Regions from separate parts of the Homo sapiens genome. Here region 1 is linked to region 2. The links are contacts of gene promoters, found by promoter capture Hi-C in blood cells and fetal thymus (Javierre and others, 2016). All regions are on one chromosome and are shown on one strand. The core of a region is centred on a gene start or on the middle of the fragment in contact, and the rest is flanking DNA. Distances in the headings are between cores, read along the strand shown. Region 1 holds the start of SIGLEC1 (sialic acid binding Ig like lectin 1). Region 2 overlaps ATRN (attractin).

What was found. The method cuts DNA at HindIII sites, captures the fragments that hold promoters and counts their contacts. A CHiCAGO score of 5 or more calls a contact.
Region 1: a contact is called between the fragment with the promoter of SIGLEC1 here and a fragment that was not itself captured in region 2, in 2 of 17 cell types (megakaryocytes and endothelial precursors). The highest score is 9.6, in megakaryocytes.

What each region holds. Positions count from the first base shown.
Region 1 is chr20:3,709,412-3,715,591 of GRCh38, reverse strand. SIGLEC1 (sialic acid binding Ig like lectin 1) reads left to right here and starts at 2,992. Exons shown (of 22, transcript NM_023068.4): 1 at 2,992-3,122. The HindIII fragment of the contact is 9,565 bases long and covers 1-6,180 here.
Region 2 is chr20:3,562,527-3,568,478 of GRCh38, reverse strand. ATRN (attractin) reads right to left here. Exons shown (of 29, transcript NM_139321.3): 10 at 5,116-5,270; 11 at 3,047-3,131. Among named protein-coding and RNA genes, the nearest start is that of ATRN, 94 kb to the right of the region's middle. The HindIII fragment of the contact is 1,815 bases long and covers 3,740-5,554 here.

The sequences.
Region 1 (6,180 bases), core at 1,743-4,242, 150 kb before region 2:
ATGGTGGCTCATACCTGTAATCCCAGCACTTTGGGAGGCCAAGGTGGGTGGATCACTTGACTGGGAACTCTCAGGAGTGTGAGACCAGCCTGGGCAACATGGTGAAGCCCCATCTCTACAAAAAAATACAAAAATTGGCTGCGTCTGGTGGTACTCACCTGTAGTCCCAGCAACTTGGGAGGCTGAGGCAGGAGGATCACTTGAGCCTAGGAGGTCAAAGTTGCAGTGAGCCGAGATTGTGCCATTGCACTCCAGCCTGTCCAGCCTGGGTGACAGTGAGACCCTATCTCCAAAAAAAAAAAAAAAAAAGAAAAAGAATAATTGTTATTAGATGAATGTGTAACAGTGTGACCTACTGAGAAATTACATTTTTTAAAATATTTTGAGGCAGAGTCTCGCTCTGTCATCCAGGCTGGAGTGCAGTAGTGTGATCTCGGCTCACTGCAATCTCCACCTCCCGGGTTCAATCGATTCTCGTGCCTCAGCCTCCTGAGTAGCTGAGACTACAGGCGCCTGCCACCAGGCCCAGCTAATTTTTGTATTTTTCGTAGAGACAGGGTTTCGCCACGTTGACCAGGCTGGTCTTGAACTCCTGGCCTCAAGCGATCTGCCCACCTCGGCCTCCTAAAGTGCTGAGATTACAGGCGTGAGCCACCGTGCCCAGCCTACCTAGTTATTTTTATTTATTTACCTAGTTTGCTGTATACTCAAGGAAATGACAGGAAGCAGTGCTCCCTGACTAATCAAGGTAGACAAGTCTTTGCTCTCCTCATGCTAAGGAAAGGTAAGCAAGTTCTGGGTGTGTTGTTCTGGGACTTAGGCCTTGTATCATCTTGCTAATGTAGCCACAAAATTCTCAGCAGCATCCAGCAATAAATTCACGCATCCACAGGTTGACTGGTCTGGTGGACGTAGGCTGGGCTCAGCTGAGTTTTGTTTCAATCCATGGGTCTGATTCAGGTCATCTGCATGTGTTCGTCATCCTCTTTGGACCAGCAGGTTAGTTGGAGCCTGCCCCTTGCATGGCAATGACAGAAATTCAGGGGGAAAGGCAAACTGCTTAAGTACGTTTCAAGACTTAGTTTGTGTCATGTCCGTGCACATCCATTGGCCAGAGCAAGTCATATGACTAAGGTCAAAGTCAAGGGATGCTTTCCCACCATGAAGCCAAGGGGTGGATGTATAGAGTCCCAGTGGACTGAAGGATTGGTACCCATGTGTCACAACCCCACAGGCCTAGAGCTGGGTGTCTCCGGACCAGCTGTTGAGGGAGGAAGTAATGGGATGAACCCTTTGTGTTTTGGCCGAAAGAGGAAATGGCCCAAGCATAGGAGTGGACACAGGAGCTATAAAGAGGAACAGAGTGATAGAGACCTAATATCTCTGTAGCCTGAGCATTTCAGGGTGGAATGTCACCAGACATCTGCTTTGGGGCACCATGGCCTGCGATTCTGGATCCACCCTGATTTAGGGTTTCACATCCTTTTACACCTGCACACGTGGCCTTGCCCTCAGGGTACAGGGGCCTAATTTGCTGTGGCCAGCTCCCCACCAGTACAGGTAGGCAGGGACTGAGTTGAATTAAGTTTGAGTTGTGAAATTAAAAAAAAAAATGGCCAGGAGTGGTGGCTTACGCCTGTAGTTCCAGCACTTTGGGAGGTCGAGGTGGGAGAGTCACTTGAGCCCAGGTGTTTGAGACCAGCCTGGGAACATAGGGAGACTCCGTCTCTACAAAATAACTTAAAAAATTAGCCGTGCATAGTGGCAAGCGCCTGTAATCCCGGCTTCTTAGGAGGCTGAAGCAGGAGGATTGCTTAAGCCTAGAATTTCGAAGCTGCAGTGAGCCAAAGTGAGCCAAGATTGCACCAGGACACCCCAGCCTGGGCGACAGAGCAAGACACTGTCTCAAAAAACAAAAACAAACAAACAAACAAAAACCAAAAAAAGTCTTGTTGCTTGTATCTGGGATTGCTTGGAGCAATTAACATCTGCTTCACATGTCAAGTGCCTGCACAAACTAGGCCCTCAATAAGATGGGCTGCAGTAATGTAACAGTAACTAGCTGTGGTGGGGGCTTTCCTTTCCTGTCCCAAGGTGGGGGTGAAGGTATAGGATAGTGGCCGGGTGCAGCGGCTCACCTCTGTAATCCCAGAACTTTGGGAGGCCGAGGCAGGCAGATTACTTGGGGTCAGGAGTTCAAGACCAACCTGGACAACATGGTGAAACCCCGTCTCTACCAAAAATACAAAAATTAGCCGGATGTGGTGGTGCATGCCTGTAATCCCAGCTACTCGAGAGGCTGAGGCAAGATGATCACTTGAACTCGGGAGGTGGAGGTTGCCGTGAGCTGAGATTGTGCCACCGCACTCCAGCCTGGACGACAGAGTGAGACTCCATCTCAAAAGCAAAAACAAAACAAAAAGAAAAAAACCAACAACAAGAAGCCAAAAACCAAAAAACGTACAGGACAGTGAGAGGGGAAAGAGAAAACCTGAGGAGTGTCCTGGACATTGGGGCCTTATGTCCCCCACAACACGGGACTGCCTCTTGGGGGTTCTTAAGAGTACTCAGTGGTACAGGGAGGCTCCTGAATGGCTTGGAGAATAACTGCCTTGGTCTGGGCATCGTGTAGTGCATCCCCACCCCAGGCTGGGCGCGCCTCCCTCTCAGGTGTCAGGGAGGAGAGCTGTGTGCAGGAAGCCCCCTTCCACCTCCCCCAGCCTCCCTAAGGGGCTCAGAGAGAGTGGGGTGTGGATTTGGCTGGTGAATGGGAGTCCCCCACTCCATTTCTCACTTTGCCTGGGGAGGCTCCAGCGTTGCAGCGGTCCCACTTCTGCTTGCTGGAGTCCCTAAGTCCCTGGCCTTGCCGAGGGCCTTCCCCTATGGAGGTCTTTCCCGTTTTGGCATTGCGCAAGGCCTGCAGCTGCCTCCCTGACCAGCCTCTGGGTTGGACAGTAGAGCTGAGGCTTTGGGAAAGAGGAAGCAGCCCCTGATACGGGATCCTTCTCTCTTGAGCCGGCAGAGCCCTGGGGAGCCAGCTGCACCAGGAGCTCTTGGCCGTCCTTCCTGTTCTCCTCTCCGCAGGTCCAGCACCGCCGCAGCCACTTCCTTCTGTGGAGCAGGTACCCCTGTCCCTGGTCCCTGGGCCCAGAGGGTGAGTGGAGCATTAGGAGCGGGGCTGGGCTGAAACTGGCTGAGCGGGATAGGGGCAGGGGTCGGGGGGGGGCTCCATCTGGGTGCGAGTGGTGGACCCCAAACCAACCCAAGTCCAAGACACTAATCAAAGATGGACTCAACTGAAACCCTTCCACCACCCCCAAATCCTTCCAACCTGCATCCCAATCCCAGTCCCGACCATCACCCTGCTCTGACCCTACCTCAGCCCCAGCCCCAGCCCCTATTCCAACCTTATCTCACCCTCACCTCACTTGCACCCCAACCCTAACCATTTACTCATCTCATCTAATCCCAACCATCCATCATCCCAACCCTAACCACAACTCCGACTCTATCATCCTCATCTCAACCCAGCCTCCACCGTATCTTAACCATCACCTGCACCCAACTCCAACCTTCACCCTTACCCCCACCCATCACTCAACCTCAATGTCCACCCCAATCCCAGCCTTAATTTGCTTCCAGAATTCCAACCTGATCATCACCCTGACCTCAGCCCCAGCCCAGCCCAACGATAATCTCTCCTTACTCTAACCCCAGCACAATTCCACTTCATCCATCACCACTTCGTCCGTCCACAGGAGGGCTTCTGGTGCTGTCCAGCACAGTTTGGAGAGTGAGCACTCCAGCCAGAAGCATTTAGAGCCAGATTAAGGAATGAAGTGTGAAATTTCTACTGCCCATGTCAAAGCCAATAAGCATTAGTTATGGATTCTATGGCTCTGAGAATTAAACATTTGGCCTGTGATTGGGGATTTCCACTATTTTGACCATAATCTGCTCCAGGAATTGCCCATCCGTACCCTGACTCCCTATCTGTGGGCCAGTAACCTCCAGCTGGCCATGTCACCCTGTGTTCTTCCTTCTCTAGCCCAATGGGGAAGTTGGGGAGAAGCCTTGGTGTCAGGAAACAGAAACTGAATCCTACACCCGGGCCTAGCTGTCCATAGGGAAACTGCCTCTGCCCTTTCTTCCCCAGCTAAACTTGGCCTCTGGAATCAGAGGTCAGGGACTTGGGGCCCCAGCCAACCCTCCAAGACCTCCTGAGGCACTTGGTCTCAAACAGGCAGCAAACGTGAGTGCCCACTGTGTACCAGGCCAGCTCAAGCCACCCTGATGCAACACATACCAATAGTAGGAGTGGGGATTTAAAATCCTGTCTTCAGAGCACCCAAGACTTGGAGACCCAAGTATGAACCTCAGGAACCTCCTGTCTGGGGAACAATGATTTCCAAAAGAGTCACCCAAGGGAGGGATGGTTCAGGGCTGCAGAGCTGCCTGCTCCCTGTTGCTGGCACACCGCCCCCTTTCCCGGGACCCGCAATTCCCCCTCGACCACCAGGGGGCGCTGCGTGCTCACTAGGCCACAGCTGCAACCCAAGTTGCGGGGGGCGGGGGGCGGGGCACTGTCCCCTCAACTCCAGGCTTTCAAACAGGGACAGAGATCTCCTTTCTGAGCGGTCCCTGCTCTTTCTGTTTCCAGAACAGTTATCTGGGCTGAAGCTGGCCTTTGTGGTGACAGGCTGAGCCAATAGGCTGGATTCCGGTGGGGCTGACCCCTTTGGGGTTAGGGCCGGGCTAAGCATAGGTGGCCTCTACATTATGTGATGGGAGTGGTCCTGGAAAGGGTCCTCCCCCGCGCCCTGTTCCAGGGTCGCTGTGTCCAGAACCCCACCATTCTTCCATCAGGTTCACGATTGCCCTTTTCAGGACCCCAAATGGGAGGAACAGGGGAGCTGGGACAAGATAGCTGCCCTGGCCATAGCAGAGCTGACCCTGACATCCCCTGTGGCCAGGGACACATCTGACCCCCAGTGTGCCCAGCAGGCTGCTTTTCTTCACGGTGAGGTGTCCAGGTCCCAGGGCCCCAGCTATATCATTCTCCAGTGGCCAAGAACCTGGTGTGGAGGCTGGGGGTGCATCTTCCCAGAAGAGGAGGAGGCCTAGGGCTTCCTAGAGAACTGGAGATGAGCCCTTGGGCCTCCATAAATGGCCAGATCAGTCCACTCCAGCAGCCTGCGAGAGGGCTGGGTCCCCTGGGGAGCGGTGTCCTTCCTGTCCCAATCCCGCCCTGTACTGTGCCCCCTGCTGGGGCACCTTCTGCCTTCTGCAGCAGGCTAAGTCCCACCTGGTCAGCCTGACTGGCCCTGGGCCTCGGCTCACCCCCTTCCCAGGTGTGACCCCTGGTAGTCATTGGAATCTGCTGAGCCCAGCCCCTGAGGCGGATGGGCTGGGAGCTGGGAGGTCATGAGTTTCCTGTCCCCACTTCCAGCCTCCTCGTTCACTTGGCCAAGTCAGCATTTAGGACCAGGGAGGATTGCAAAGTTGGCAACATGGGTGTGTATGTGGTGAAATATACATAATGTAAAATTTACTGTTTTAACTGTCTTTAAGTGTACACCCCATGACATTAGGTACATTTGCAATATTGTGTAACCATCACCACTATTTCCAGAACTTTTTCATTATCTGAGAGACTCAGCAATCATTAAACATTAGCTCCCCCTCCCTGCAGCCCCTGGTTACCTCTATCCTATTCTACTTTCAGTCTCTGAATATACGTAGTCTAGATATTTCATGTAATTGGAACCCTACAATATTTGCCCTTTTGTGTCTGGCTGGTTTCACTGAGCATAATGTTTTCAAGGTTCACATATGTTAGAATTCATTCCTCCTTATGGCCGATTGATATTCCATTGTATGTACATACCACAGTTTGTTTATCCACATCCATTCACTGATGGACACTTGACCTGTTTCCACCTTTTAGTGGAATAGTGCTGCCGTGAACATTGGTGTACTCTGTTAGAGTCCCTGTTTTCAGTACTTTTGGGTATATACCTAGGAGTGGAATTGCTGGATCATATGGTAATCCTATGTTGACTTTTTGAGGAATGACCCAATTGTTTTCCACAGTGACGGAACCATTTTATATTCCCACCAGCAATACACAAGAATTTCAACTTCGCATCCTCACCAATATTTATTGTTTTCTGTGTTGCT
Region 2 (5,952 bases), core at 3,398-5,897:
TGCAGTGGCGTCATCATAGCTCACTGCAGCCTCAAACTCCTGGGCTCAAGTGATCCTCCTGCCTTAGCCTCCCAAAGTGCTGGGATAACAGGCATGAGCCACCATGCCTGGCCTAATCTGAAATATTTACTGGTAGATTTCAAAAACTAAAAAATTAATATAAGGTTTCTTTCTCTTTTTTTTTTTTTTGACACAGTCTCGCTCTGTTGCCCAGGCTGGAGTGCAGTGGCGCGATCTCAGCTCACTGCAAGCTCCACCTCCTGGGGTTCACATCATTCTCCTGCCTCAGCCTCCCGAGAAGCTGGGACTACATGCGCCCGCCACCACGCCCAGCTAATTTTTTTGTACTTTTAGTAGAGATGGAGTTTCACAGTGTTAGCCAGGATAGTCTTGATCTCCTGACCTCGTGATCCACCCGCCTCGGCCTCCCAAAGTGCTGGGATTACAAGCGTGAGCCACTACGCCCGGCCAGGTTTCATTTTTTACCTTGCTATAGGCTTACTCAGTACCACATTAAGCAGGCTAGATTCAACTAGTTAATTTGTTGCTTAAACCAAATAAGCAACCTCCTCTTCCCAGTACAGTTGGTGTTCTCAGCAATTGTGAATCCATCTGGTTGCACAGGGGCTCTGCAAAGTTAGGGAGAGTCTCTCAGAGACACATGGAGCAGGCAACTGAGAGGCACAGCTGCATCTCCTGCCGCCTTGGTATGTCACAGCCATCTCTCCTCCTCCTTCCTGCCTCCCTCAAAACCTCAATGAAAACCAAGGAAGGCACAGCTCACCCAATGCTGTTGATCCACTTAAAGCATGAAGAAATGCTGTGAATCGAAGTTTCTTTTTCAGTAAATTATTTCATAAAATTAAACCAAAACTATGGCCTTTTAGTAGCTGGCCTCCCTCAGGGTCTCCTGCCACCTACCCAATCCTGTCTCACACACACAGATACTTACATATCAGGGTTCAAACATACCACTGGAATCACATAAAATGAAAACATTACAACTCAGGCAAGGCATTCCCAATTTTGACTCATGATTAAATTATATTTTATGGTAAAGTCTCAACTTCTCTGAGTTTGAATAAAACCTAAGAATGTTTTATAAAAAATTCATTTGTTTGCTAGTTATGACTGTACTAATACCTGCCATTTAGCAAATGTCTATTATGTGCCAAATCCTGTGCTAGGAGAACTAGGAACACAAACGAAGACAGTTGAGGCCAGGCTCCCACAGGCATGATAATGACAAAATGGTCCCACTGCGTTTCAGATGAAAATCTCAAGAGGCACTTGCTAGAAAGCTTTAAGGGTCTTCTGTACTGAGGAAGTTCAAGATTATGATTTATAATAACACTTCAAATTAGCAAGGTGGCCAGAAATCCTTCCATTTTAGTCTCTAGCTGTCAAATGTTCTCATAGTAAAACCATACACATTGCTAAAAAACGAAATAATTACCTTATATAAGATAGCACCTTTTCCTAGTAGCTAGTTCCTAAATTGTCTCAACTCTTCCTTCACAACATCTCCAAAATATGTCACCTTCTCACTTTTCCTTTTTTTTTTTTTTTTTTTTGAGATGGAGTCTCGCTGTCGCCCAGGCTGGAATGCAGTGGCATAATCTTGGCTCACTGCAATTTCCGCCTCCTGGGTTCAAGTGATTCTCCTGCCTCAGCCTCCCAAGTAGCTGGGACTACAGGTGCCTACCACCACACCTGGCTAATTGTTTTGTATTTTAGGAAGAGACGGGGGTTTTGCCATGTTGACCAGGGTGGTCTGGAACTCCTGGGCTCAAGTGATCGGCCCTCCTCGGCCTCCCAAAGTGCTGGGATTACAGGCGTGAGCCACCGTGCCCGGCCTCTCATCTTTCCTAATCTAAGTGAAATTACCTCATCTGTCTTCCATCGTTACAACAGAAATTTCAAAAGCCAAAGGAATTCTAACATGATGCAGGCATTATAACGCTTAAACATCCTTAGGATTTATATGGCTTAGAATTTTAAAAAAGGGAAAGTAGACAGCAGTAGTAATAGCAGAAACTGAATGAGAAAAATTAATAATGTGATTAGGCTGTTTAACTTCTTAAAAATCTTTAAAGCACACTGTAAGGAACAAGTAGAGTGGCCACTCTGAATCTCCCTTATTTGACTGAGACTTCTCCAAGGGCCGATTTTTTGAAGAGCTCTGGTAGTTTGGGCCAGGCATTTTTGAGCGATAAAATGCAATGAACTGCAGACTTCTGATTATCCAGAGCCTACAGACTTGAGCTATATTAAACTTCACAATCTCTCCACCTCTGTTCTCCTACCTTATCCCCCCATCTGAAGTGCCCTCTCTCCTCTTTTCCAAACTTCTTACTATTCAGATACAACTACTAGGAACTTGACAACCTAAATACCACTAACAATAACAAAGGACATAAGACAATGACATGCACGTAACTTTTGTTGCCCCAGGCACTCAGACCACACCAAAAAGCATGCTCTTGCGTGCTAACAAAACCAGATCAATAAACATGGCATTCAAAGTAATTCACCTCCACATCAAATATTTTAAACATAAATCAGAAAATTTATACCCACATAATCCTGTAAAAAAACTACTGGGATGAGGGAATCTTGTGAATAATATGTTGAGTCCAATTCCACTTTACTTTTCTCTTTTTTTTTTTTTTTTTTTTTTTTGAGACAGAGTCTTGCTCTGTTGCCAGGCTGGAGTGCTGTGGCGCGATCTCGTCTCACGGCAACCTCCAACTCCCTGGTTCAAGTGATTCTCCTGCCTCAGCATCCCTCGTTCAAGCGATTCTCCTGCCTCAGCCTCCCAACTAGGGGGGATTACAGGCACGCACTACCAAGCCCAGCTAATTTTTGTACTTTTAGTAGAGATGGGTCTTTACCATGTTGGCCAGGATGGTCTTGATCTCCTGACCTCGTATTCCACCCGCCTCGGCCTCCCAAAGTGCCAGAATTACAGGCGTGAGCCACCGTGCCCGGCCCTTTATTTTCATTTTAAACACAAAAGAAAAGGAGCAATCACTTCTCCAATTACCTGTTGTGTAAGACTGCTGAATGGCCAAATCTGTTGACATCATGGTGGAGATCAGGTCTGGGAAGCACTGACCAGCGGTCACAGGCTAGGAGAAAGAAAAATATATTTTTAAACGGACTACCATTTCTAATCAACAGGACCTGACATTTTCTTTGGGAAAAATACTACAACAAAGAGAACCTCATAAAACATGCCTCTCAATTTTCTCAGTTACAACATCATTTCTGGGTTAAAATGAAGCAGCAGCAGAGCAACAGGGCATGGAAGAAAGGCGGGATCATACCACAATTCTAACTAGCAAACGCACCCGAAATCCATGACATCTGGATCACTCACCCAACTGCCTATCAGTTTGATGCACTAGAATTGAGACAGAGTCTCGCTCTGTCACCCAGGCTGGAGTGCAGTGGTGTGATCTCAGCTCACTGCAAGCTCCTCCTCCCAGGTTCACGCCATTCTCCTGCCTCATCCTCCCAAGTAGCTGGGCCTATAGGCGCCTGCCACCATGCCTGGCTAATTTTTTTTATTTTTAGTAGAGATGGGGTTTCACCGTGTTAGCCAGGATAGTCTCAATCTCCTGACCTCGTGATCTGCCCACCTGGGCCTCCCAAAGTGCTGGGATTACAGGCATGAACCACCACGCCCAGCCAAGAATGTTTTTTAAAGCAAGCAAATTTTACATTCTACAAAGCTTATGTCAGCAAAACATGGGTTTCATAATTATTTTCCACTCTTTTCTATATTGATTTGCTCAAATTTAGTAGCTAAAATGGAAAAATAAAGGTGGAAAATGAAATTTCAAGAAATTTAAATGTCACCTAATTTTTACAAAGTCCTTTCCTAGATCCCATAGATTGATTAATTTTCCCTTGTTGTGACCCATACTAGCAACTTCTCTTCTGGATCTAATACCAACTGGTGCTGCTATACCATGCCAACCTCACACTCAGTGTCTCACTCTTTGAGCCCTTAAATATGTGCCGGTCTTTTCCACCTCTGTGTCTCTGCAAACTGGGTTTCCTCTGCCTGGAGAGTGCTGCCTAACTTCACCTACCTGACACCTAGTGTCCCCAAGGACCCAGAGAGGATGGCCCCTCCTTAAGAAAGTGTTCCCTGTTTATCACTCTACCCTCCATGACTTAAAGGGTACTCAGAGGTGCTCTCATACATTCTTTTCAGCCAGAAACACCCTGAAGTGCAATTCTATTGTCTGCTCATTTCTCTACCTCTTCTACTTTGAGGCTAAGGGCTTTAAGTTATTCATCTGATCTCCTCAATGTACAAACTGAGTGGCTGGCACACAAATGTCTGTTAAAAACGAATGTCTGACTTGGAATAGTCAAAATCACAGAGACAGACTGTAGAATAGTGGTTGCCAGGCATTGTGGGGAGGAAGAAATGGGACATTATTGTTTAATGGGTATACAGCTTCAGTCTTACAAGATGAAGACAGTTCTGAAGATGGATGGCGGTGATGGATTTATAACATTATGAATGTGTTTAGTATCACTAAACTAGACATTTAAATATAGTTAGGATGGTAAATTTTATGTGTATTTTACCACAATCAAAAAAATAATAATTTGTTTAAAATGAACATCTGACAATTTTTATGAAAGAGATCATCCGGTATGCATTTGCTTTGCATGAACAAATACTGCCCTCTTCTGGTCTGGTATATTGCCACACCAAGACCATGTGAGAAACCAGTTTTCTAGGGAATGAGATAAAGCTAATACGTGAACCAATTTTAACACAATGCTGGTGGTTGCAACTATGTAACACTACCAGGTAGGCATAACATGACAAAGGAGAGACTAGACACCTCAACTCAGCCTTAAAAATTAGCATTCAAGCAATTAACAGGAGTGATTTCAAAAAGAATTTAATGTAGAAATAATTTTTACCAGATGTGTAACATTAGTCAAATGAATATAAAAAATACCATTTGGACCTCTTTCAAATGGCCTGATCATTTTGAACTGGCAATATTTTCAGTCTCCTTTTAAATGCTGCTTATAGTATAGGCAAAAAGATGCCTGAAGAGAAAATGGTTTTGGGAAACTTACCAATGTCATAGGCCATGAAATCTGAAGAGAAGCATTTGGCGCCATGGCTCATAGATGTGTCATTGTGTGTGTTTCCTCCAAACACCAGCATGGTTCCACTCACTATCACAGCTGTGTGCAAGTAACGGAAAAATCGGCTGTCCTTAAGAATGGTCCTTTTGAGTTTATTTAGAAATAATAAATACAAGGTTAGTTTTTAAAGAATATTTATGTATCTGCTAATGCAAGCACAACCACTTTATTAACCTCAGACCCAAATGTACAAATCCTTCCAGAGTTTTCCCTACATAAAAGTAAGTTTTTCAACAATAAATACAGATAATTTTAAAGACCTGTAAGAGTTTTGGCAAAATATATTAAGAACCTTAAACTCTTCATACCCCGTAGCTATATAATTCCAGTTTCTGGGCAGAAATCATGTGAAATATTGACAGAAGCTTAATGCATAATGGTTTCTTAATGACATAAAAACTAGAAAGAAACCAAAACTTTCACCTGCATAGTCTCAGCATACCCACAAAATGGAGTATTGCACAGCTACTAAAAATGATTATTTTTATGACAGAATATAAAACAGTACCCATAGCAAGGTATCAAACATGTGAGGAAAAAGAGGAGAAACCATCGCTTTATAATTACATTATTTCGTAACTCAAATTTGCTTTACATTTGTTAAAAAACTCTAAGTATTTTCTAACCAACCTGCTACAGAATTACAGAATAACGTAACAAAATAAATACTAGCTACTTTATTACCCTCTGTTTATTTCCCAATTTCTCTATATATAATGCCGAACAGAATTATCTGCCAGGCATGAAAACAAAAAGATAGCACAA